Regions from separate parts of the Homo sapiens genome. Here all the other regions are linked to region 1. The links are contacts of gene promoters, found by promoter capture Hi-C in blood cells and fetal thymus (Javierre and others, 2016). All regions are on one chromosome and are shown on one strand. Each heading gives the region's core, a stretch centred on a gene start or on the middle of the fragment in contact. The rest is flanking DNA. Distances are from core to core; before and after follow the strand shown. Region 1 holds the start of RASSF6 (Ras association domain family member 6). Region 2 overlaps MTHFD2L (methylenetetrahydrofolate dehydrogenase (NADP+ dependent) 2 like). Region 3 overlaps MTHFD2L (methylenetetrahydrofolate dehydrogenase (NADP+ dependent) 2 like). Region 4 has its middle 6.0 kb from the start of MTHFD2L. Region 5 overlaps LOC105377277 (a long non-coding RNA gene).

Region 1 (4,974 bases), core at 758-3,257:
TATCAAATAAAAATTACATATTTACAAACAGATAAAACACTAAAAAACGAAGTCACTAAGCCTCTAACTTTACTTTTCTTTAGAAAACCAGTTGGAAAGCAGTCATCAGAGTAAAAGTTTCCACAGCATCTGCCATTTAACAGTTTCTAAGCCTTTTTGGAGTCCTTTTGAAATTGGAGATATTGGCAAAAAACAAAGCCCCCAAATCCAATGCTTGCAGGTAAAAGATGCAAAAGAATGTTGCCCTGATGCTGACAATAAGCAAATGACCCACTTCAAGCACAGACAATGGAGGTGGAGCATGGATTTGAGCAAGATATCCTGGAACCGAGAGCTGTAACTACTCTAGGTCCTGCTAGTCATCATTCAAAGGTCAGTCCATACCAGCAGCCACATACCAGAGAGTTATGGAGCCAACATGATGATCGAATTAATATCTGCAAGTAATACTAAGTCACATCTGTCCTTACATAAGATTGTAAAATCTTTGATTGTGATCCAATAAAACCATTTGCTCAAATAATGATAAATCTGATAGTTCCTGGTCTCCGCACACCACAGATTAAATAGATAAACTGCCTAATATTTTTTCTTTTTTTTTTTTGAATCAGGCTGGAGTGCAGTGGTGCAATCTTGGCTCTCTGCAGCCTCGACTTCCCAGGCTCAAGTGATCCTCCCACCTCAGCCTCCCGAGTAGCTGGGACTATAGGCATGCCCCACAATGCCGGGCTAATTTTTTTTTTTTTTTTTGCAGAGACAGGGTTTTGCCATGTTGTCCAGGCTGGTCTTGAACTCCTGGGCTCAAGTGATCCACCAGCCTTGGTCTCCCAAAGTGCTGAGATTACAGGCGTGAGTCACTGCACCTGGCCTGCCTCACCTTTTGAACATATAGGATCTTACTTAAAGTGCTATGACAAACATGCAACCTGAACATCTAGAGTCATTCTGTTTGTCTGGCGTTTGAACACGAAAGATACTAGAAATTAACTCTGCCTGCTGAACTTTTTGCAGGAATCAGATTGAATTTCTTTTGAGGGCTCTCAGGTTTACACTTGTAAAATAACCTATTATGTTTAAAAATTATGAATAGTTGCTTTACATAGGAAACCAGTAAAATAACAATGATCCTTAAAAATCTGTGTGTGTGTGTGTGTGTGTGTGTGTGTAAATGTACTTCATATTTCCACAGCATCTGTCATTTAACAGTTTCTAAGCCTTTTTGGTGTCCTTTTGAAATTGGAGATATTGGATAAAACAAAGCCCCCAAATCCAATTCAGTAGATAATGACTAAATTATTATTTATCTCCTCTGTTTTGTTTCATTATGTTCATTTTCAAACTTTGATGTCTACCAGTTTCTTCTGTGGAGCTTATAAAAAATATAAATACCCGAAGTGTATGCATGGCCTACTAAATCAGAGTCTCACAGTTGATGGTACCTGGGTTTAGCAGAATACATAGGTGGTCCTGGTGCACCCTGAAGCGCGAAACGCTGCTCTGGGTGAAAAAAAGTGCTAGCAGGGAAATGTGTTAGCAAAATAACAAGGAAAAGAAAGTTAACAAATCTCAAATTGGAAAAGAAAAATCTTAAAAAGAAAGACGTGAATAATGGCGTTCAGTCTTGGTTGGTGTCATTTCTCACAGGCCAATTACCTACAGTCTGGGTGGACTAGAGAATAGAGATTAACATCAGTCAAATCCCGTGGTTAAAGCGTTAACTAGAATGTCCATTCATTTCTCAAGAAGTGTGGCAGAGAGCAAAGGAGTGTACCTATCAGCTGTTCCTAAGAAAGTAAACACTCCCAACATGCACTGAGGCACAGGGAGTGGCTCAGGTTTCTTGACACTTCCCTGCTGTGGCGAAAAGGAGAAATAATTAACAGCTCCTGGGGCTCCAGGATCGCTGATCGCGTCGGGGGCACTGCAAGCGCCCAGCTGAGCCATGCTCTGGGAGGAGACAGGCGCCGCCCCTGCGCCCGCGCGGGCCTCGGACCTCCCCTACAGGTGAGTGACTCGCGGAGTCCCAGCCCGGCAGAGACAGGGCACTGGTTTCCCTCTACCAGAGTTCCTGACCCAGCCGAGAACAAACCGCGAAGCAAGTTCAGCCGAACAACGATGGTGAAAAGGGTCCTCCTGCTCACAGTGTGAATAACAGGTAAAAAATGGGGATGGGGAAAAAAACTTTCTAATCCACTCCCTGGGGTCATGTTGAGGGCAAGTTATTAGAAAGCAGAATCCATAGGCAACAAAGTTAAGTGTGTGTGTGTCATAGCAGCCTGAATCGCACACATGCCTTTTCCTTTTGATTTTCTCAGAATATGCTTTCCTAACCAAGGTAAGCTTGTAGGGTGGGAGGGAGAGAGGGGAAAGAAGGGAGGGAAAGGGTGCAGAGAAGGGCTTGGAGGTAAATGTGACCATAGGACCCCTCCTCCCTTTAGTTCAATGAGCCCTTCACCTGTAATTGTGCCTGGCAAAAATCGTGCCTTACAAAGATACTAGACTTCTGGATGGCATACTCCTTCCTCTGAGTATCCTTATGGTTAGAATATTGTGTTGAATCATCGCACTGGAAAGAACTTAATTGAGGGTTCAGCTCAACTTTTATTTGTTTCTGCAAAGTGACAGAAAGCATGCCCCCCACCAAAAAAAAAATGAATTTTCAATATAAGCGCTCACCAAACAATGAAATAATAAACATAAATAATTAAATGGGAGTGCATGAGTTAAGGATATGAATTCTGAAGCAGAAGAGTGGTAGGTTCAAAGCTCGGCTTTGCCACTTATTAGTTTGCCCCCTCTCAAGTTTCTTAACCTAAGCCCCAAACGTTTGTCTGTAAAACAAGCATCATCAAAGGATCTGCCACATAAGGCTTTCTTTGATGGGAACTGAACAGTCAGCAAGTGTTCTGTAAGTGATACCTACTGTTAGCATTAAGAATAAGCTGCTCTGCCAAAGGGGCCGTTATCAGGGAGGGCAAGCTGAACTAGGGAGACCAGACAGTGTGTATTAGGATGCTGGAATTGAACTGGTTCCCGGAGACTGGATCCAGGACAGGCAAGCAGGTGACAGGTGTGCTAGGATCATCTCTCTGGGTAGCAACGAAATGACCTGGCTTCTTTCCATTTTTCAGATAGAGTATGTGGTGGCAAATTCAGACATATTTGCTACTCAATCAGTTTTCTTTTGAAAAATTCACATTTACATTAATCTGTTATTCCTAAAAAGAAAATAGAATTTTAGAGTAAGAGAGTTACACACAATCTCATATTGTGGAATTCATGCCATTTGGGTTTTATAAAGGAGACTGCTTTTGAATAACTTTCATCAATTTAGACCATATAATCCATGTCTTTATATTTCAGCACATATTGAATTGTTTGTATTGAAGTGCTGTTTTTAATTTGTGTTGATGGACAAGAGACATGAAGGAATAATACTTGTATTTTGTCAGTCTCTACCTCTTAAGCTTAAATTACAGGAAAGTGGCTTTATTTTATGAAGTTTCACTTAAAGGGCACTTTTGTCAATGTTGTTAGTTATTAATGTTGCTAATTTTCTTGAGGGGACCAACTTAGTGTCTATGACTAGTAATTTCCATTGACTTCATTTTTATCTTGTTATTTTATTAAATAAAGCAGTCAAAGAGTTTGCAGTATACTCTAACTTAATATCATTGGTGTTTTAATGGATTCTTTTTTCAAATTGCAGAGTTGAAATTCTTCAGTGTGCTTACAATTAGATATTGACTGGAGAATTGTGGATAGAATTCTAAACCCAACCTAACTGAAGTTTACTATGTTATTTCCCTCTGGGGTCTGATTGTGTTTAGTACAGTTTAGCTAAAAACTTATAAAGGAATCAAATTGAATTAGAATAAGTTAGGGTTCCAATATTCATTAAAGATTTTTCAAAGAGGAAATATGCTTTTATGCTGAATTTCCATATTGTTATACATCCTTAAACAAAGTTATTTGCCTTTATATTTATTGATAGACATATGTCTAAATAAAGAATAGTAGCCCCAATTGAGATAAATTTATTTAACCATATTTGAAATTGATTTGAGATTAATCTACTTAACCGTAACTGGGTGGAAGTCTTTCTAGTTAAAATCTGTTTAGATAGATAGATAGATAGATAACAACTTTATATCTATACATTAGAATATTGTGTTGAATTTACATTTATTCTACTATTTCTCACGTGTATAACATTTTATTATAAACTATTAAATGTTGTGGTCAATCAGAGAGAGAGAGAAAGAGAGAAAAGAGTGACACAGAGAGACCCAGCAATGATTACGAAAAAATTAACTTTTCCAGTTATATTCAAAATAGTGTAACATGTATGTAACAAGTCTTTTAAGCATGTAATTAAAAGTTCTATACCTGATTCTTGTTTTAATTTCCTAAAATAAGAAGGATCCTTTACTTTTAACTGAGATAGAAACCCAATGCTGACAGTCCATTTGCTTATATAGATTCATTGATTGCAATGTAGGTGGGGAATTCACGGTTACTAGAGTTACATGGGCTTCATATAAAAGCTTAGATTTTTAAAATATTCAAGTATAGGCCATTTGAAAACAAAACCTCTGAGAAAGGAATTCTGAATATTTTCCTTTCACATTACAGTTAGAGAGTTATTCTGTTGCAAAAATTAATTTGTATGTTTAAAATGATAAATTATAGTGATTTCATCACTTTCATAACATAATCTCAACAACCAAACTTAACTAATACCACTGCTTTCAGGAGTAGAACATGAAGTGTCTCCTATTTAAGTAATAAGGATGTTAACTTAAAGGAAAACTTCATCATCACCTAGAGCCTAGTAAAGGAGCTTAAGAGGAGAGAGTGTCGATTCTTTTGCAGCAAATATACAAACAGGAAAAATGAGTCGTGATCTTTGTGACGTCAGCCTAAGAATTTCTACTGGGAAGCTCAGGTGAAGCAGAAAATTTTTGAGTTCCA
Region 2 (4,974 bases), core at 979-3,478, 580 kb before region 1:
AGAATACATATTTAACTTATTACATGAGGGTAAAAATACTGGTTCTTTTTTAAAAAAAATCTAGGTGATGATGATGATAAGTCATTTTTAAATCACCTACCACTCACGCGGAAGCTTCATGACATGGATATTTTTTACAATGAAATGAAAAGCTTTATAGATGAAAAGAAAAACAACTATATTTGGAGTATCTATTTTTAGCTAGGACTCAAATTAGTTTATTTCTAAGTTCAAAACTGGCTAATATATGCATGGGCTGGGCTACTGATTAAAAAGAACTCAACAAGGACTCTTTGTAGATTTTAAGAACCATTCTCCAAACAATAAGCCTCAATTACACTGTATGTTGCCATCTACCATTTTTTGCGCTCCCATTCACTGAAAATAACATTAAAGCTGTAACAAATATTTCAGTTCACACACCAGCTGAAATACTTGAGAAGAAATGTAAGCATCTGAAAATCTGGAAGCCAGAACTAGAGACTGGTGGTTACAGATCTGTCCTCTTGCATATGCCAACTTCAACTCAGATCATAATTCAGATCACCATTTTGGTTTGTCTTAAATATTTAAGTATTACTAGTTTAAAAGACAGATGAATGGACATACAAAATGTATAGCAGATTCATAAAACCTGAATCTAAAAGGAAAAGAGCTCCATATGAGTAGATGAAAAAAGTGAAGATCATAAAAATCCAGAAAACCAATTCATTTATCATTTTTATGTAACTCTGCTATCTCAGCAGTGTATTAAATCTAACATATATCTTTTTCCAGGAGAGATCTACCTATTACTATGTAGTATACAGTATATAGCAATAATGTGAACTACTCTATCTACATTTAAAAAGTGCTTTACAATGATTATATTACCTTTACATCAATTTCCTTTTAATCTTCATAGTTACTGGGGATAAAAGTAGGAAAGGTATGATCATGCCCATTTTAAAGACAAGTTCAAGGAGTTAGAGTCAATCTCAAATCACTACTAAGAATCCAGAATTTAAATCCATATCTTTTTGTTCTAAGATCAGTTTTTCCTTTTGTATCATACAGAAGTCATAATAAATATTAATCATTTTAAATACCATTAAAAATTAAAATCACAGAGGCCTCCCTCCCAACTCCTAATAAGACATTTGATAACTCTAAAATATCCCAAGAAATGTATTGTTTCTCCTAGGGCTCCAAATATAACACTATTCCTAGATTAAGTAATACTTGTCTAAGCACATGCAAAAAAGCATCAAACATTTTACATTTAGGATTACAGGTAATCCTACTTCCTTTTGTTATATGAGTAAGAGAAATAAATACATTTCCTGTTTGTGACTGACTGCTACTAAAAGTCTCCCAAAATCTCACCCTTGGGGCACATAACTTGAACAGAAAAAACAATCGTGAGACTTAATAGCATCAATTTTCTCACAGCAGTTATACAACATGTTTGATTCACAGGATACATTGGTAAACAACCAACCATTTAATATCTTACCCAAATGAATGATAAAACTGGTTTTATTCACTTTGTGTTTTCCCCCCTTCTATTTAAAGTTATGAGAAGTCATTAAATCATGCTAGGAAAAACAGAAGTCATCAAATCAAAATCTGAACCACTGTAATAAAACAGCTCAGATAATGCCTTTAGGACACTGTAGATTTACTATATTGAATGAATATATGTTTTGTATGGGTTTTTTTTTTTTTTTTTTGAGACAGAGTCTCATTCTGTTCCCCAGGCTGGAGTGCAGTGGTATGATCTCAGGTCACTGCAACCTCCGCCTCCTGGGTTCAGTAGATTCTTCTGCCTCAGCCTCCCCAGTAGCTGGGACTATAGGCATGTGCCACCATGCCTGGTTAATTTTTGTATTTTTAGTACAGATGGGGTTTCACCATATTGGCCAGGCTGGTCTCAAACTCCTGACCTCGTGATCCACCACCTCGGCCTCCCAAAGTGCTGGGATTACAGGCATGAGCCACTGAGCCTGGCCACTGAATACATATTTTTGCGATGTATTTATAATATGCTTAATTGTCTTTGGACAATGAACAGAAAAAAAAAGGAACAAACAAATTACTGGCTTATTTTCCACCTATAGATTTTTACAACATTACTGTTTAAAAATGCCACCTTCCACTTCCCCCACATCTGTTGGATAAGTGCAAGCTCATCCGTATAGTAAACATTGTGTCCTTTAGCTTATTTTTCCTATAGTCTCTTCTCTGTGTGTTCCATACCTTTACCAACCATCATCATCACATGCCCTCCACTCTAGTCACACCAAACCATGTCCTTTCCCCAAGCCCTTAGCATTAACTTCTGCATTGCTATTGCTCATGATGATTTTTTTCACTACTAATCCTTTCTTCTCAGTTTTTTTCACATCCTATTCATTCTTCAATGCATTGATCAATTGCCCCCTGTTGAAATGATCACAAATTGAAACAATATTTTTTTCCTCTGCTTTCCCATGGAACTGCTATAAAAAATACTTAGCACACTAGTTCAGTTAATGATATTAGTTGTTTAATTATCTCTATCATTTATGAATGTGAGCCTTTTAGGACACAGTCTGTCTTAAACTGATTCACTTATAACTACTCCATCTCAGTTGATGGTGTGAAAAAAAAAATCTTGGGCCCCCAAAATCACTAAGCTAAAGGGAAAATTCAAGCTGGGAACTGCTCAGAGCAAATCTGCCTCCCATTCTATTCAAAGTCATCCTTCTGCTCACTGAGATAGAGGAATGTTCTGATTGCCTCTTTTGGAAAGGCTTATCAGAAACTCAAAAGAATACAACCATTTGTCTCTCACCTACCTGTGACCTGGAAGACTCCTCCCCTGCTTCAAGTTGTCCCCGCCTTTCTGGATGGAACCAGTGTACTTCTTACATATGTTGATTGATGTCTCACGACTCCCTAAAATGTATAAAACCAAGCTGTGGCCCAACTACCTTGGGCACATGTTTTCAGGACTCTGAGGCTGTCTAATGGGTGCATGTCTTCAACCTTGGCAAAATAAACTGACATTTGTCTCAGATTTTCAGGGTTCATAATGGGAAACCCATCCTTCTGTGCTACTTGCCAAGAAAACCTGGAGTCATCTTAAATATCCCTCTTTCTCTCACACCTAACATCCAAACCATTGGAAAATCTGTTGACTTTCTTCATAATAATATATCTAGCACTTTATCAGTCTCACCATGTTCATGATACTACTCTACTTTGAGTGAACATTATTCTTCCTGTCAATTCTTGAAACAGCCTCCTAATTAGTTTCCTTCTTCTATATGTGCAACCATACAATTTATTCACAAAACAGCAATAGAGTTATACCTTTGAAGTACATATTTGATCACATTGCTTTTCTCAAAACCCTGCAATGTTATTACCTTAAAAATTGCAAACAAGGCTCTACATGATTTTTACTGCACCAAAACCATAGCTATGTGTCTAATCCCATCACTGGTTACTCTCGTCTTCTCTCAATCTGTGAGCATCAAGCTGGTCCCCTTGATGTTCCTTGAAAACATGAGGCATTTTGCCACCTTAGCTATAGCTTTCTATCTGCCTGGAAGGCTTTCCTAAAAAAGAACTGTCACCTAGGCTAAATCCCTACCTTCTTTCAAATGTTTTCTTAAATACCACATTCTCACTGTTAAAAGAAAAACTTCAGCCAAATTAAATTTAAAGATGTTTAATTGAGCAATGAACAATTAACGAATTGGGCAGCCCCCCAGAATCACAGCAGATTCAGAGAGACTCCAGAACAGCCACGTGGTAGAAGAAGATTTGTAGACAAAAAAAGGGACACAACACACAGAAATCAGAAGTGAGGTACAGAAACAACTGGATTGGTTACAGCTCAGTGTTTGCCTTATTTGAACATGGTTCGAGCAGCTGGCTACACTTGATTGGCCAAAACTCAGTGATTGGCACAGGTGTGGGCCACGATTGGTTTACACCTCTACTTGTTATAGTTCACAATATACAGAAAAACCTTTAGGCTAATCTTAAATATGTAAGGAGGCAGCTTTAGGCTAAACTTGATTAACATCAGTGAGGACAATTCTGACCACACTATTTAAAAATGTAGGTTCAGTTTCTAGTGATTGTGAAGTAGCTTATATTGGACTAAACTTCTTACAGAAAACAACTGCAAACTTCAGTAAAATCATTTGAAAAAATACAAAAACAACTATCTGAAAAAAATGGAAAGTCACTAAAAACAAACAGATGTAGAGGAAAGTAGATAGCTTAAAGAAAAAAAAATCACTGAAAGAGTTCTCCACTTTAAAAGCTTTTCTAGCCACAGGACAGCTAGAATTTGGATAGAAATATTCAGTCCTACTTGCTTAAGAGATCAAAAGATGAAGTTTGGGGCTAACACCGTAGTTGAAAATTGAAGCGATATATCCAGGAAAGGAGAAAGCCACAGAAAGGAGTCCCATACATTGTATACAAATTCTGTATCTCTGAATGACCCCTGAACAAACACACAGGAAACAAACCCCAAGAAGCTCATCTAAGGATAAGATAACTTACCAGAGATTGTACCTGTGGTTCACCAGAGGAGAAGCAAATCTTTAAGTCCCCAATCTGATACAGGCATTTATAAAAAACTTTACAATTAACATCCTACTTAATAGTGAAATACTGAACCTTTTCCCTCAAGATCTGAATAAGGTCCACTCCCACAATTTCTAGTTAATGCTTTGTTGGCAGGCCTAGTGGGTGTAATAAGATAACAAAAAAATAAAGAGGCATAGAGATCAGAATAGAATAAGTAAAATTCTCTGATCACAGATGGCATAGTTGTTTATGCAGAGCATGCTTAAAAATTTATAAAACAATTAATAGAACTAATAAAGTGAATTAAGCAAGATTACAAAGTCAATATAAGAAAACAATTGAATTCCTGATACAAGTAGTAACTATCAGAAAAATGAAATTTTACAAATACTCTTTACAATA
Region 3 (4,974 bases), core at 1,563-4,062, 550 kb before region 1:
TCACTGATTATGGTGGGGATCAGGTCAGTAAACCGATAGTTTAGTTCCTTCCCAATGCAATGGCATCATTTCTAATGGAGTAAGTTTCCACAGAAGATTACTTCCTGGCAGTTTATAAGTATTTCAGAAGGTAAGAAGTGCCATAATTTGATAGATGATATAAACTATCTCTGGAAAGGCACAAAGAAATACTTTCTAGAAAGGCTTTTCTGCTCTCCATGACCTCAAACTTGAAAGTGGTGAATTACATTGCTCTTACTGTGTGTTTATTTTTTTAAAGGTATCTGATAAAGTAGAAGGTGGTCCCTTCTTCCTTCTGCCCCTGTCCTTTCATTATTGAATGGCCCGGTAAAAACATGATTACTACAAAAAACATCAAATGTAGGTAAATAAATATTATGAAAAGGAGGAAAAGGGAAAGAGTAAGAAGCAGAAGAGAAAGAGGAGGAGGAAAGGAAGCCCTTATAAACCTTAATTCTTTGTGGTATCTGTACACTTTTAATTTTCTAATGAGGGCGGGTGCTATAAATATCCGACAACACACAAAATGCAAACTTTGTGCTCCTTCCAAATAAGTCAACTGCTCTCTCTAGCAGGTTTGTGGACGTATAGGTAGAACTTGATCGAAAATACACCATTATAGCATGGCACCAGTCTTCCACTGCATTCATCTCAGTTCATGCAATTTTGATGTAAACAATGTTCTGCTAAGAAGCAATTCCAAGCGTGGTCTATGGATACACACATCAAAAACTGCCTGAAATTGCAGATTCCCAGACCCCACAATCCACATCTACAATTCAGAATTCCTGGGGGCAGGGGAAAAACCTGGAAATCTGCATGTCTAATAATTTCCTACATGTGATTCTTGTGTATGACCATGTTTGAAAACCACTTTAGTTTACCATAAAAGTGTATTTTAATAACAATCATAATTTATGAGTAAATAACTGAGCAAATTGGTTAGACAATACAATCACAACTAGACATTCTAAGTAAACTCTACTTTTGATTCTAATTTTGTCTACTCTTCATTAAAATTTTAATAGCTTTCAAGACATGAAATGTCATGATGAATTCAATATAATAATCTTGTTCTGCTGTCTTATTTCTGTAAAAGATTTATTCAGTATAATTGTCATATAATAAACTGGACATATTTAACATGTACAAGTTTAAGTTTTAATATATGTATATACCTGAGAAACCATCACTATAGTCAAGAAAATGAACATGTCTATCATTCCCAAAACTTTCCAGGTGCACCTTTAAAATTTTGCCATTCCACCTGTCTCTGCCAGATTCCACTCCTCAATTCACCATTCCAGGCAACCATTGACCTCTTTTGTTCAGTATATATTGGTTTGTATTATGAATAATTTTATAAAAATTGAATCAAATACTACATACTCTTTTTTGGCCAGCTATTTCCACTCAGCATAATTATTTTTTAATTGATTCACATAGTTGCATGTTTGAATGGTTCATTTCTTTTTTATTGCTGAGTAGTATTACATTGTATGGATATACCAATATTTGTTTATCCATTCGATTGTAATTAATGGATATTCGGGTTCTTTCCAGTTTTTGATCATGACAAATACAGCTGTTACAAACATTTTATAACACATATGCTTTAATATATTTTGTACACATATGCTTTAAAATATTTTTTTTGTGGGGGACAGGGTCTCCATCACCCAGGCTGCAGTTCAGTGGCAAGATCTCGGCTCACTACAACCTCCGCCTCCTGGGTTCAAATGATTCTGATGCCTCAGCCTCCAGAGTAGCTGGAATTACAGACATATGCCACCATGCCTGACTAATTTTTGTATATTTAGTAGAGACGGGGTTTCGCTATGTTGGCCAGGCTGGTCTCGAACTCCTGGCTGCAAGTGATCTGCCCCTCTTGGCCTCCCAAAATGCTGGGACTACAGGTGTGAGCCACCACTCCTGGCCGCTTTAATTTCTTTTGAGCAAATATCTCAAAGGGGAATGGCTAGGTCACATCGTAAGTGTATGTTTAAATACGTTAAAAACTGTTACGTTACAAAAACACTGTACCACTTTGCAACTTTGCATTCCTTCAAACACTATATGAGTTCTGGTTGCTCCATATACTTGTCATCACTTCAGATGGTCAGGTTTTAAAACTGTTGACATTTTAGTGGACATATGGTGGTATGTCACTGTGCTTTAAATTTGCATTCCCTTAACGAATACTGATGTTGAACATCTTTTCATATGCTTATTTGCCATCTGTGATCTTCTTTAGTGAATTAAATAATTAAGTCTTTTGCCCATTGTTTAGTAGGTTGTTTCCTATTTTGAATTTTTTTAATTTTATTATTATTATACTTTAAGTTTTAGGGTACATGTGCACAATGTGCAGGTTTATTACATATGTATACATGTGCCATGTTGGTGTGCTCCACCCATTAACTTGTCATTTAGCATTAGGTATATCTCCTAATGCTATCCCTCCCCCCTCCCCCCACCCCACAACAGTCCCCGAAGTGTGATGTTCCCCTTCCTGTGTGCATGTGTTCTTATTGTTCAATTCCCACCTATGAGTGAGAACATGCAGTGTTTGGTTTTTTGTCCTTGCGATAGTTTGCTGAGAATGATGGTTTCCAGTTTCATCCATGTCCCTACAAAGGACATGAACTCATCATTTTTTATGGCTGCATAGTAGCCCATGGTGTATATGTGCTACATTTTCTTAATCCAGTCTTTCGTTGTTGGACATTTGGGTTTTTTTAAAGTTCTTTGTGTATCCTAGATTCATGTCCTTTATCAGATATGGGGTTTGAAATATTGTCTCCCAGTCTGTGCTTTGCCTTTTTATTCTCATGTTTTTAGAACAGTTCTTAATTTTAATGTACTCCAATTTATTATTTTTTCCTTTTATGGACCATGCTTTTAGTGTTGTATAAAAGAAATCTTTGCCTAATTCAAGGTCACAAAGGTTTTCTCCAGCGTTTTCTTCTAGATGTTTTATGGGCCTAAGTTATACATTCAGTTTATGATTTATGTCTATTTTTAGTTTGGTGAGAATTTGTATGAGGCTACTGCCAAGTGTTTTTTATGTCTATTGAGATGATCATATGTTTTTCTCGAGTGTTAGTCTGTTAATATGGTAACTGATCAATTTTCAAATGTTAAATCAAACTTGCATTCCTGGGATACATCCCAGTTGGTTATTATGTATCTATCCTTTCCAGACTATCATGGATTTCATCTGAAATTTTGTTAAAATTGTTGCATCTACATGCATAAGAGGTGTTTGTAGTTTTCTTTTCTTATAATGTTATCATGTAGCTTTGATACCAGGATGATGCTAGCTTCATAGAATGAGTTAGGAAGAATTCTATCCTCTTCAAATTTCCGGAAGAGTGTGTAAAGAATTGGCATTTTTTTCTCGCTTAAATGTTTGGTAGGATTCACCCATGAAGCTATCTGATTCTGGGGTTTTCTTTCTGGGAAGGTTTAAACCTACAAACTTAAATTCCTTAATATAGAGGGCAATTCAGGTTATCTAATATTTCTTGAGTGATTTTTGTAGCTTGTGCTTTGTACCTTCCAATACTTTGTATGTAATTATAAGCAAATCAAGTTAAAATAAAATAAAACTTTTGAGGTTTTTATTTTTCAAAGTAAAGTAACAAACTTTTTTCACTGTTTCCTATGAATTTCTGGTAAGGATATTTTATGAATTCATTTAAGTAGCCTTTTGGCACTAAGATAACAAGGATCTTTTATATTAGCAAATACTAAGAACTGCAGATACAGCAACAAATTCCAGCACAACTCATTTATAGGTAGTAGCAAATAAAACTTTCCATAAATCAATTTGTGTCAGCAATATTTTCTTGGGGTAGAACACTATTATAGAAGCAGATTCATCTGTTAAAAAAACTAGTAATCACCTAACACAGTAAGGAATATACATTCTATTTTAAAATATAAAAACATCTGAACTCTGTCTTGCATTTTATAGCATGTGAGTAGTGATGCTACTGCTGACACATTATTGATTCACTCACATTAAACAAAATAATTTGTTCACAGGCCACTGTGAAGCTGGCAATCACTGAGTATAATCTAGGCTAATTATGTCCTAGACAGTACAAATCTGCGTGACCTGGAGATTGTCAGAGAAGACCAATAGCATAAACTGATTCCCAGACTCCAAAGAGACAACCTGTATACAGATTAAACTTAACTGTACCGTGCATACTCAAGTCTAAGACTGTTCAGGGTTTACTTTAAATTATAGCACTGAGGTGCTAAGTCAGCTCGCTAACTAATTACAGCAGACATGATACAGCCTGGCTAGCTGGTGTTTATGGGTAAATTAGGAGTTAGGTCTCTGAGCATTTTCAGTAGCAACTGGCCCCTCCAACTGACTCCATCAGTCACCGTAGAGACTCAGCAAGCCTAGCTCTGTAGGAGTCACTGTAAGAGGCAAAATGAAGCAACCTCAAATTAATGCAGGTCCAATGAGAGAGTGCCTGTATTGGTCCATGTGCTGGAAGAACTAGTCAACTCACACATTCTCATTACTTTAGTGCATAAACAAATTAGATTTTTCAACATGAAAATTCTTGAAAAGCTAAAAAGGTTAAACATCAGCAACAATTCAAATGTTCAGCCCCTGAATAATACATCTCCTAAAATTTCTCTCCGGCTTGTCTTGATCTCCTCTAATCCATTTTCCATACTGCAGCCAGAGTGATTGTTTTCTAATTTAATTACAGCACCTCCCTGGTTAAAACTCCCCACCACATGCTCATTGTTTATTCACTTAACAAATATATATTGAAAGTCTCCTATGTGCTGAAAACTATTTTGGGCACTGGGAATATAAATAATAGGGCACAAAACAATTACCTACTTTTATGGAAACTATATTCTAGTTGAAGAAGATATAAGCAAATTGAAAAACAACAAGTATTTAATATGTGTAACATG
Region 4 (4,974 bases), core at 758-3,257, 530 kb before region 1:
ATCCCACATTGATGGGGATATGTCAGGGACAGGAGCCAACTGAAAGGGTTCCTCATGCCCAAAGATGGAACAATTTGAGTAGTAAAATAAAGTAGTGTTGGATTATAACCCGAAGTATAAAATTAATATCCATGAGCCCATAATCATATAAATAAATATGTGATTGAATAAATAAATAAATATGGGAGAGAAGAAACATGATGCAGAATTCCTAAAATTTATGTAGATACTCCACTCTGAAGGAGGAGTAGAATTCTTCACTTCTTAAATGGGAACTGATGATAGTGACTTCCTTTCAGAGTTCAGTTTAGAAAATGGGAAAAGAGAGTAACTTACCTATGGAGAAACCTGACAAACACTACCTCAGACAGTGATCAGGATTAACATCAACACCAATATATCATACTGATAGGATGGATACTTGATATAATGTGGCGAGAATTGTACTTTACCTCTGCAATCTTCCTGCAAAACCTGTAACCCCAGTCTGATCGTGAGAAAAACAATTAAATCCCAACAGAGGGACATCCTACAATATACCCGAAGAGTATGTCTCAAAACTGTAAAGACAATCAAAAACAAGGAAAGTCTAAGAAACTGTCACAAGTAAGAAGAACCTAGAAAAACATGACAACTAAATATAATGTGATATCTTGGATTGGATCCTGGAACAGAGAAACAGCATTACAGAAAAACGAAGAAGATCTAAATAAAGTATAAACTTTTGTTAATAGTAATGTATCAATATAGATTCATTTTATCATATAATGTAAGATGTTAATAATCGGAAAAACTAGATGTGTGACATATGGGAAACTCAGTACTATTTTCTGAATTTTTCCGTAAATTTAAAACTGTTCTATAAAATAAAGTCTATTTTTTAAAATGTCTATCTAGCCAGGGTAGGTATATATTAGAATCAATACCAGAAGAGAATCTTTAAAGGTGGACTTTATCCAAGTTTTATTTATTGCTCTATTTGTAGTTATTAATTTATTTATTAATATTTCCTCCTGAACTGAAAAAGGTAAAGCTGATATATTTTCCCTGTTTTAATCCTCAATGTGCTTCTAATACCTACTCAACAAATATTGAATTCCTTTGAGTTAAATCAGGGATGATTAAAAATTACAGAGAAAGAAAGCTAGTTGCTAATGTGGAATAAAAACTTTCTCCCATGATTATTTTAAGTGTTCCAATGAAAATTTTGGAAGTTGCTTTAAAGAGTACAATACATTTTTATGCCACAGAGATATATGCGTCCATGTAATTATTTGTAGTGTCCATGACATTGCTTGGGGCATCTTATTTAATAGGCTCCATTTATATCGTCAGTTATCTTTTCACTATATAGCATTCATTGTTGTAACAAAATGTTTCAAAATGATTATCAGAATGTGAACAGTTAGCACTGGCATCAAAAGCCACCAAAGTTGGAGTAGGTTGCTGTGAGGCAACCAGAGTTGGTACTGCATAATGACAGACAGATGCATAGCTTACTCCAGAGAATAGCAAAGAAGCCCATTCATAAGATAAGCTTACTAAGAAACTGAGATGTCAAGGGAAAATCACAGCCAAGGAATAAACAAGGATCCAGAAAACCAGGAGTGGAGCCAAAGCAATAAACAACATGGGTAGCTACTGCCTGAGATGAAGCAGAAGCTAATGAGCTGAAGAAGCTTAGCTTGGCAGCATCAGCTAGAAGAGGCAAGTTCCCTAGGATATTTTAAGATCATTATATTTTCTGTCCCAGAGTGTTTTCTTTTTGTTTTTGTTTTAAATTAAACTAAGAGATTGATGTATCCTGCTTGTCACTAGCTGCTCTTAAAGAAGTTTGTACTTCAGGAACAGAAAACCAAACACTGCATGTTCTCATGCATAAGCGCGAGTTGAACGATCAGAACACATGGATACAGGGAGGGGAACATCACACACTGGGGCCTGTCAGGGGGTGGAGACAAGGGAAGGGAGAGCATTAGGATAAATACCTAATGCATGCAGGACTTAAAATCTAGATGATGGGTTGATAGGTGCAGCAAACTACCATGGTGTATGTATACCTATATAACAAACCTGCATGTTCTGCACATGTATCCCAGAACTTAAAGTAAAAAAAAAAGTATTGTGCTTGTCTGTCAAAGAAAATTTTCCATGAGCTCTTCCAAATCATATTTTCTGTAAGGGAATTCTCAATAAAAATATAAACAACTTTACAGCATATGTGTTTTAAAAACCTGATATTTATATAAATTATTAAAATTGATTCATGAAGTAGAAAACCAAAACAGACAGAAATGGAAAAGAAGCTACTAATCAAATACAACTATAAAGCTTCCTAAAGCAGAGTTTTTTTATGCCCTCAAAATATGATAAGTCATACTAAAAATCTTTCCAAATCATAGAGAAGGAATTTCCCAGGTATTTTTATTATATTCAAACCCAATTTAAAAGAATACAAAAAAAGAAAACTATTGAACAATATAACTGATAAATGTAATTATTAGGATATGAAAGAAAACATTGTTGATATAATTTGATGGTATTATAAAAGGAAAAACTTTACCACAACTAAACGATAATACAAAGATGGGTTAATTAGGATAATATTGGAAGTGTGTCAGTTCATATATCACATAAATATGGAAAATAAGAGAAAGAGTATTTGATAAAATTCAATAACCTTTCCTAATAACATTTAATAAACTAGATATAAAAATATTTCAGATCAACAGCTAATAGCATTCCTAACAATGAACCTGTAGGGACATTCCAATAAAAATTTGGAAAACCTATGAAGGAAACATTAAGACTGTGATGAGTAATGTATGCAAAGACTTGAATTAATAGAAAGACCAAGATGCTTAATATTGTAAATATGTCGACTTTCACTAAAATAATCTATTAATCCAATACCCAATAAAATATCTCAGTTTTTTAGTCAAATGGGGGAAGATTTAATATAATAATAACAGCATATGTTTCCCTGAATTTGCTATGTGCCAAGGCTGTGCTGAACACTTTTCAGAAGTTATTCTTTTAACCCTTACCACAATGAAGCTATGAGGAAACAGGTAAAATAGGCTAGATAACTTGCCAAGACCTACAGCTATCAAGTGATGAAAGTGGAGTTCAAGTCTCAGGTAGTGTGAAACCAGTGCCCACACTTCTAACTGCAGTGCTTTTCTAAATCTAAGGTTCTCCTGGAAAAGTTTGCATGCTACATCGCTAAGGTACAGAGAACTCATCCCAATGTCTGCATTTTAGTCATTTATACAATCTTCTGTAACTATAAAATTGATTTTTGATTTGAATCTGTGTAATAAGGAGAAAATAATTTTTAATTTTCCAATGAATGGTGGATTCTATTGAAAAATTGATTACCAAGTTTTATTTCATGATAATTAATGTGACTACCAGTTTCATATTTTAATAACTTATTGATAGTTTATTTGTGGTCTTATAATACCATTAACTGTATAAAAAGTGCACCTGGTTTAGAATATAATGTTAACTATATATACTGTATATATCTATATACATGTCAATATATAACCAATGTTACAATGATTGTCTTTTTTCTAATTCCTCTGTTCAACTTTTTAAAGACTAAGAATGATGTAAAGAACCCAATTTTTCTTTATTTTTTACTACATATTATAGCATTATTTCATCAGTGAATATGGGATAATGATTATTACAGATTCCATATAGTTTATCTATTATCATTATATAATGGCCTTCTTTATTTTGTTAAGCCTTCTTGTTTTCCATGGTAATTGTTAGACATTGCTACTCCTATCCTTGTTTAGTTTTAATATGAAAAGTGTCACATGTATATATTTATATATATATACACACACACACGTATACATATACACATGTATACCTGTATCTTTTTACATTTAAATTTTGTTTCACTTTGTTTTGATGTGTGTCATTTAAAACAACATATGTTAATTTTTTTAAGTTATGGGATAATGTTTGGAGCAGAAAATAATATGCAAATAATATATATGCATTGGCTTTTGATTGCTGCTATAATAAATTATCACAAATTTAGTGGTTTAAATAATACAAACTTGGCCAGGCACGGTGGCTTACGCCTGTAATCCCAGGACTTTGGGAAGCCTAGGCGGGCGGATCACCCGAGGTCGGCAGTTTGAGACCAGCCTGACCAACATAGAGAAACACCGTCTCTACTAAAAAATACAAAATTAGCTGGGCATGGTGGCGCATGCCTGTAATCCCAGCTACTCAGGAGGCTAAGGCAGGAGAATCGCTTGAACCTGGGAAGTGGAAGTTGCAGTGAGCTGAGATCGCACCATTGCACTCCAGCCTGGGCAAAAAGAGCAAAACTCTGTCTCAAAAACAAACAACAACAACAAAAACTTATGGTGTTACATTTCTTTAAGATAGAAGTCTGGTGTGAGTCTCACAGGGCTATAGTCAATTAGGGTTGTATTCCTTCTGGAGGCTCTAAGGAGAATCCATCTCCTTCCTTTTTGCGTGTTCTGTAGACAACCTACCCACTTTCTTTGGCTTGTTGGCACCCTTCCCCCATCTTCAAAGCCAAGAATGTCGAAATCCCTCTCTTACTCTTCTTCCATTATTTCTCTCTCTTTCTCTGTCTCTCTCTTTTACTTACTACAGCCAGGGGAGGGTCTCTATTCTAAAGGCCTCATGATTTGATTGAGCCCACTAGGTTAATTCAAGATAATATCCATATCTCAAAGTTACAAACCATAATCACATCTGTAATAGTACCATTTGCCATGTAAGGTGATATATTCACAAGTTTTGAAACCTAGGATATAAACATTTTTTGGGGGGAGCACTCTTCTACCTACCACAACACATAACACCCTTGCAAATTATGAAGCATAACAACAAGAAGAATATTCCTGAACCTACCACACAACGTGGGAATTAGAACCTTTCTGATATCAATGAATAAATCTAGGTGCTTCTTTCATA
Region 5 (4,974 bases), core at 1,325-3,824, 510 kb before region 1:
CTTCTTTAAAAAAAAAATGTGTCCTTGTCTGGTTTTGGTATCACAGTAACACTGGCCTTGTAGAATGAGTTTGAAAGTATTCCCTCTCTCCTCTTTAATCGTTTTGAAGTATTTGAATAGAATTGGTATTAGTTCTTTAAATGTTTGGTAGAACTTAGCAGTGAAGTTATCAGGCCGTGAGCTTTTCTTTGATGGGAGACTTTTTATTATGGCTTTGATTTCATAACTCATTATTGGCTTATTGAGGTTTTCTATTTGTTGATGGTTCAATATTGGTAGGTTGCATGTGTCCAGGAATTTATCCATTTCTTCTATATTTTCCAATTTGTTGGCATGTAATGGTTCCTAATTGTTTCTAATGATTCTTAGTATTTCTGAGGTCTCAGTTGTCATGTGTCCATTTTTGTTCCTACTTTTATTTATTTGGGTCTTCTCTCTTTTTTTCTTATTCTGGCTAAAGATGATTTGGAGCTCCTTTATATGCTGCTTGCTTCTTTTCTCTTGCTGCCATTACAGTTTTATCTTTATGCTTGATCTTTGACAGTTTGATTAGTAAATACCTTCATTAGTCTTATTTGACTAATGTGATGCTCTAAGGCCTTCCTGTACCTGAATATTTATATCTTTCTCATGTTTTGGAAAGTATTCTCTTATTATTTCTTTGAATAAGCTTTCTACCCTTGCTCCTGCTCTGCTCTCTCTTGAACATCAATAATTTTTAGATTTTGTCTTTGAGGTAATTTTCTATATCTTGTAAGTGGCCTTCTCTCATTTTCATTCTTTTTTTCTTTTCTCTCCTCTGTTTATTTTTTAACAGCCAGTCTTTGAGCTCATTGATTCTCTTCTCTGCTTGACCTATTCTGTGGTTGAGATCCCCTGAAGAGTTTCTTAGTTCAGCAAATGTAGTTCTTAGTTACAAGATTTCTGCTTATCATTATTTCAATTTCCTTGTTAAATTTCTCTGATAAATATCTGAGTTGCTTTTCTGTGTTATCTTAGAGATAACAAAGTTTCCTTAAAACAGCTGTTTTGAATTCTTGGTCAGAGAGTTCACAAATCGCCATCTCAGGAGGGTCAGTCGCTGGAACTTTGCTTTGTCTAGAAGGTTATGGTTCCATGTTTGCTGTTGTTTCTTGTGGGTATACATCTATGTATTTGTATTAATAATTATTTAGTCCAGCTTTATCTGTCTAGTTTGGTTTGGTTTTTATTGAATACAGTTGCTTATGAATCTTAACTGCCAGCTTGCTGCCTTGTTTTCGGCTCTAGATGGCGCCATAAGCCTATGTTTACCTTGACTTTTGCAAATGGCCATGGCACTGCCTGTCCCATAAGGAGGAGGACCAAAGGGATTACCCTAGCACTGTGGGAAGGCCGGCCACGGGTGTGTTCCCAGGGGACTTGTGGAACATACTTGCTACATGATTTCTACTGATTTGGCATCTCCTTTGGTCAAGTTACAAGGAGTTTTTACGGCTGAGGATGGTAGTCCTGGCTTCCCTATTTGTCTTTGCCAGCCTTCACAGACATTTCTCCCTCCAGGCAGTCACAGTGCTACCTGTGGTTTAAGGCAAAGGCAGGTCTCCTGGCAGGAAACCGAAGAAGATGGGAAAGCTGGTTGACAATCTCAATTTCACGTTTTTCAGTGCAGAAACCATGAGTTGAGGGCAGATTTTTCATACTGCTGATGCCTGGTGTAATGCAGGGAAGAGGCCTCATGGATGTAGAATCTGGTTCTCCTACCATCTGCTCAGAATGTTTCCACTTCTCTGTACCTACAGGAACTGTCTCATCCTCATACAGGATCTCTGGGTTGCTGCTGGTGAAGATCTTGCTGCTGTGTATTTCTTTTTGGTTTCTGGTGGAGGGGAGAGAAGCAAGCTTGCTTCTATGCTGCCATTTTGGGATTAGAAAACCGATATGTGAACTTTATAACTAAGAATTCAAAATAGCAATTTTAAGGAAACTCAGTGACCTACAAGATAACATAGAAAAACAATTCAGATACTTATCAGAGAAATTTAACAAGAAAATTGAAATAATAATTTAAAAATGAAACAGAAATCTTGGAACGGAGAACCACATTTGCTGAATTGAAACACTCTTTAGAGGATCTCAATAACAGAATGGGTTAGAGAAAAGAATCAGTGAGCTCAAAGACTGGCTATTAAGAAAATACAGTCCAAAGAAAGAAAAGAAAAAAACAATAAAAAGAAATGAAGGCCACCTTTAAAATATAGAAAATTACCTCAAAAGACCAAATCTAAAAATTATTGGTGTTTAAGGGGGAGCTGAGCAAGAGCAAGGGGAGAAAAGCTTATCCTAAGAAATAATAACAGAGCACTTTCCAAAACTCATGAAAGACAGAAATATCTAGATATAGAAAGGTCAGGGAACACCAAACAGATTCAACCCAAGTAACACTAACCAAGGCATATAATAATTGAACTTTCAAATATCAAAGACAAAGAGAAGATCCAGAAAGCAGCAAAAGAGTAAAATAACAAAGCAACTCCAGTTCATCTGGCAACAGACTTCACAATGGAAACCATGTAGGCCAGAAGGAAATAGGGCAGCATTAACAAAGAGAAATTGTCTTTCACAGACAAAAGCTAAGAGAATTCACCACTACTAGACCCGTCTTGCAAGAAATGCTAAAGGGAATTCTTCAACCTGAAATTAAAAAATGCTAACATATTAGTGTACTAACTAAAAGAAAATATTTCAAGGTATAAAACCCACTGGTAAAATTAAGTATGAACACAACCCCAGAATATGCTAATAATTTAATTGTGGTGTGCAATCCAATCATAACTCTAGTAAGAAGCTTATAAAGACAAATCTATCAAAAACAATAATAGCGACAACAACCTGTTCAAAATAGATATTTTTAAAATATGCGAACTGATATAATAAAAATTCAAAGTGTTTGTGGGAGGTGTGGAGTTAAAGTGTAGAGCATTTTTTTCATTATTATTATACTTTAAGTTCTGAGATACATGTGCAGAATGTGCAGGTTTGTTACATAGGTATACATGTGCTATGGTGGTTTGCTGCACCCATCAACCCGTCATCTACATTAGGTACTTCTCCTAATGGTGTCCCTCCCTTAGCGCCCCACCCTCTGACAGGCCCTGGTGTGTGATGTTCCCCTCCCTGTGTCCATGTGTTCTCATTGTTCAACTCCCACTTATGAGTGAGAACATGTGGTGTTTGGTTTTCTGTTCTTGTGTTAGTTTGCTGAGAATGATGGTTTCTAGCTTCACCCATGTCTCTGCAAAGGATGTGAACTCATCCTTTTTTATGGCTGCATAGTATTCCATGGTGTATATGTGCCACATTTTCTTTATCCAATCTATCATTGATGGGTATTTGGGTTGGTTTGACATCTTTGCTATTGCTATAGTGCTGCAAGAAACATACCTGTGCATGTGTGATTATAGTAGAATGATTTATAATCCTTTGGGTATATATCCAGTAATGAGATTGCTGGTCAAATGGTATTTCTGGTTCTAGATCCTTGAGGAATCGCTACATTGTCTTCCATAATGGCTGAACTAATTTATTCTCCCACCAACAATATAAAAGCATCCCTATTTCTCCACTTCCTCTTCAGTATCTGTTGTTTCCTGACTTTTTAATGATTGCCATTCTAACTAGTGTGAGATGGTATCTCATTGTGGTTTTGATTTGCATTTCTCTAATGACCAGTGATAATGAGCTTTCTTTTTATATATGTTTTTTTGGCCGCATAAATGTCTTCTTTTAAGAAGTGTCTGTTCACATCCTTCACCCACTTTTTGATGGGCATGTTTGTTTGTTTTTCTTGTAAATTTGTTTAAGTTCTTTGTAGATCCTGGATATTAGCCCTTTGTCAGATGGATAGATTGCAAAATTTTTCTCTCATTCTATAGGTTGCCTGTTCACTCTGATGATAGTTTCTTTTGCTGTGCAGAAGCTCCTTAGGTTAATTAGATCCCATTTGTCAATTTTGGCTTTTGCTGCCATTGCTTTTGGTGTTTTAGTCATGAAGACTTTGCCCATGCCTGTGTCCTGAATGGTACTGCCTAGGTTTTCTTCTTGGGCATTTATAGCTTTAGGCCTTATGTTTAAGTATTTAATCCATCTTGAGTTAATTTTTGTTTAAGGTGTGAGGAAGGGGTCCAGTTTCAGTTTTCTGCATATGGCTAGCCAGTTTTCCTAACACCACTTATTAAATAAGGAATCCTTTCCCTATTGCTTATTTTTATCGTTTGTCAAAGATCAGATGGTTGTAGATGAGTGGTGTTATTTCTGAGGCCTATGTTCTGTTCCATTGGTCTGTATATCTATTTTGTTACCAGTACCATGCTGTTTTGATTACTGTGGACTTGTAATATAGTTTGAAGTCAGGTAGCATGATGCTTGCAGCATTTTTCTGTTTGTTTAGGATTGTCTGGGCTATATGGGCTCTTTTTTGTTTCCACATGAAATTTAAAGTAGCTTTTTCTAATTCTGTGAAGAAAGTCAATGGTAGCTTGATGGGATAGCATTGAATCTATAAATTACTTTGGGCAGTATGGCCTTTTTCACAATATTGATTCTTCCTATCAATGAGCATAGAATGTTTTTCCATTTGTTTGTGTCCTCTCATTTCCTTGAGCAGCGGTTTGTAGTTCTTCTTGAAGGGTCCTTCACATCCCTTGTAAGTTGTATTCCTAGGTATTTTATTCTTTTTGTAGCAATTGTGAATGGGAGTTCACTCAGGATTTAGTTCTCTGTTTGTCTATTATTGGTGTATAGGAATGCTTGTGATTTTCGCACATTGATTTTGTATCCTGAGACTTTGCTGAAGTTGCTGATAAAGCTTAAGGAGATTTTGGGCTGATATGATGGGGTTTTCTGAATATATAATCATGTCATTTGCAAATAGAGACAATTTGACTCCCTCTATTCCTATTTGAATACCCTTTATTTCTTTCTCTTGCCTGATTG

The links. The method cuts DNA at HindIII sites, captures the fragments that hold promoters and counts their contacts. A CHiCAGO score of 5 or more calls a contact.
Region 2: a fragment that was not itself captured here is called in contact with the fragment with the promoter of RASSF6 in region 1 in 1 of 17 cell types (neutrophils); the score reaches 8.3 in neutrophils.
Region 3: a fragment that was not itself captured here is called in contact with the fragment with the promoter of RASSF6 in region 1 in 1 of 17 cell types (neutrophils); the score reaches 8.8 in neutrophils.
Region 4: a contact is called between a fragment that was not itself captured here and the fragment with the promoter of RASSF6 in region 1, in 3 of 17 cell types (neutrophils, fetal thymus and M1 macrophages). The highest score is 8.5, in neutrophils.
Region 5: a contact is called between a fragment that was not itself captured here and the fragment with the promoter of RASSF6 in region 1, in 7 of 17 cell types (fetal thymus, monocytes, neutrophils and 4 more). The highest score is 16.7, in fetal thymus.

Annotation. Positions count from the first base shown.
Region 1 is chr4:73,617,469-73,622,442 of GRCh38, reverse strand. RASSF6 (Ras association domain family member 6) reads left to right here and starts at 2,007. Exons shown (of 11, transcript NM_177532.5): 1 at 2,007-2,155. RefSeq lists enhancers at 1,435-1,983, 1,984-2,533. The HindIII fragment of the contact is 3,198 bases long and covers 1-2,342 here.
Region 2 is chr4:74,193,684-74,198,657 of GRCh38, reverse strand. The region is part of intron 3 of MTHFD2L (methylenetetrahydrofolate dehydrogenase (NADP+ dependent) 2 like); the gene reads right to left. Among named protein-coding and RNA genes, the nearest start is that of MTHFD2L, 38 kb to the right of the region's middle. The HindIII fragment of the contact is 4,148 bases long and covers 155-4,302 here.
Region 3 is chr4:74,168,506-74,173,479 of GRCh38, reverse strand. All of the region lies in intron 1 of MTHFD2L (methylenetetrahydrofolate dehydrogenase (NADP+ dependent) 2 like), which reads right to left. Among named protein-coding and RNA genes, the nearest start is that of MTHFD2L, 13 kb to the right of the region's middle. The HindIII fragment of the contact is 8,326 bases long and covers 1-4,974 here.
Region 4 is chr4:74,149,661-74,154,634 of GRCh38, reverse strand. It overlaps a transcript of MTHFD2L not described here. Among named protein-coding and RNA genes, the nearest start is that of MTHFD2L, 6.0 kb to the left of the region's middle. The HindIII fragment of the contact is 652 bases long and covers 1,682-2,333 here.
Region 5 is chr4:74,130,739-74,135,712 of GRCh38, reverse strand. All of the region lies in intron 1 of LOC105377277 (a long non-coding RNA gene), which reads left to right. It also overlaps a transcript of MTHFD2L not described here. Among named protein-coding and RNA genes, the nearest start is that of MTHFD2L, 25 kb to the left of the region's middle. The HindIII fragment of the contact is 511 bases long and covers 2,319-2,829 here.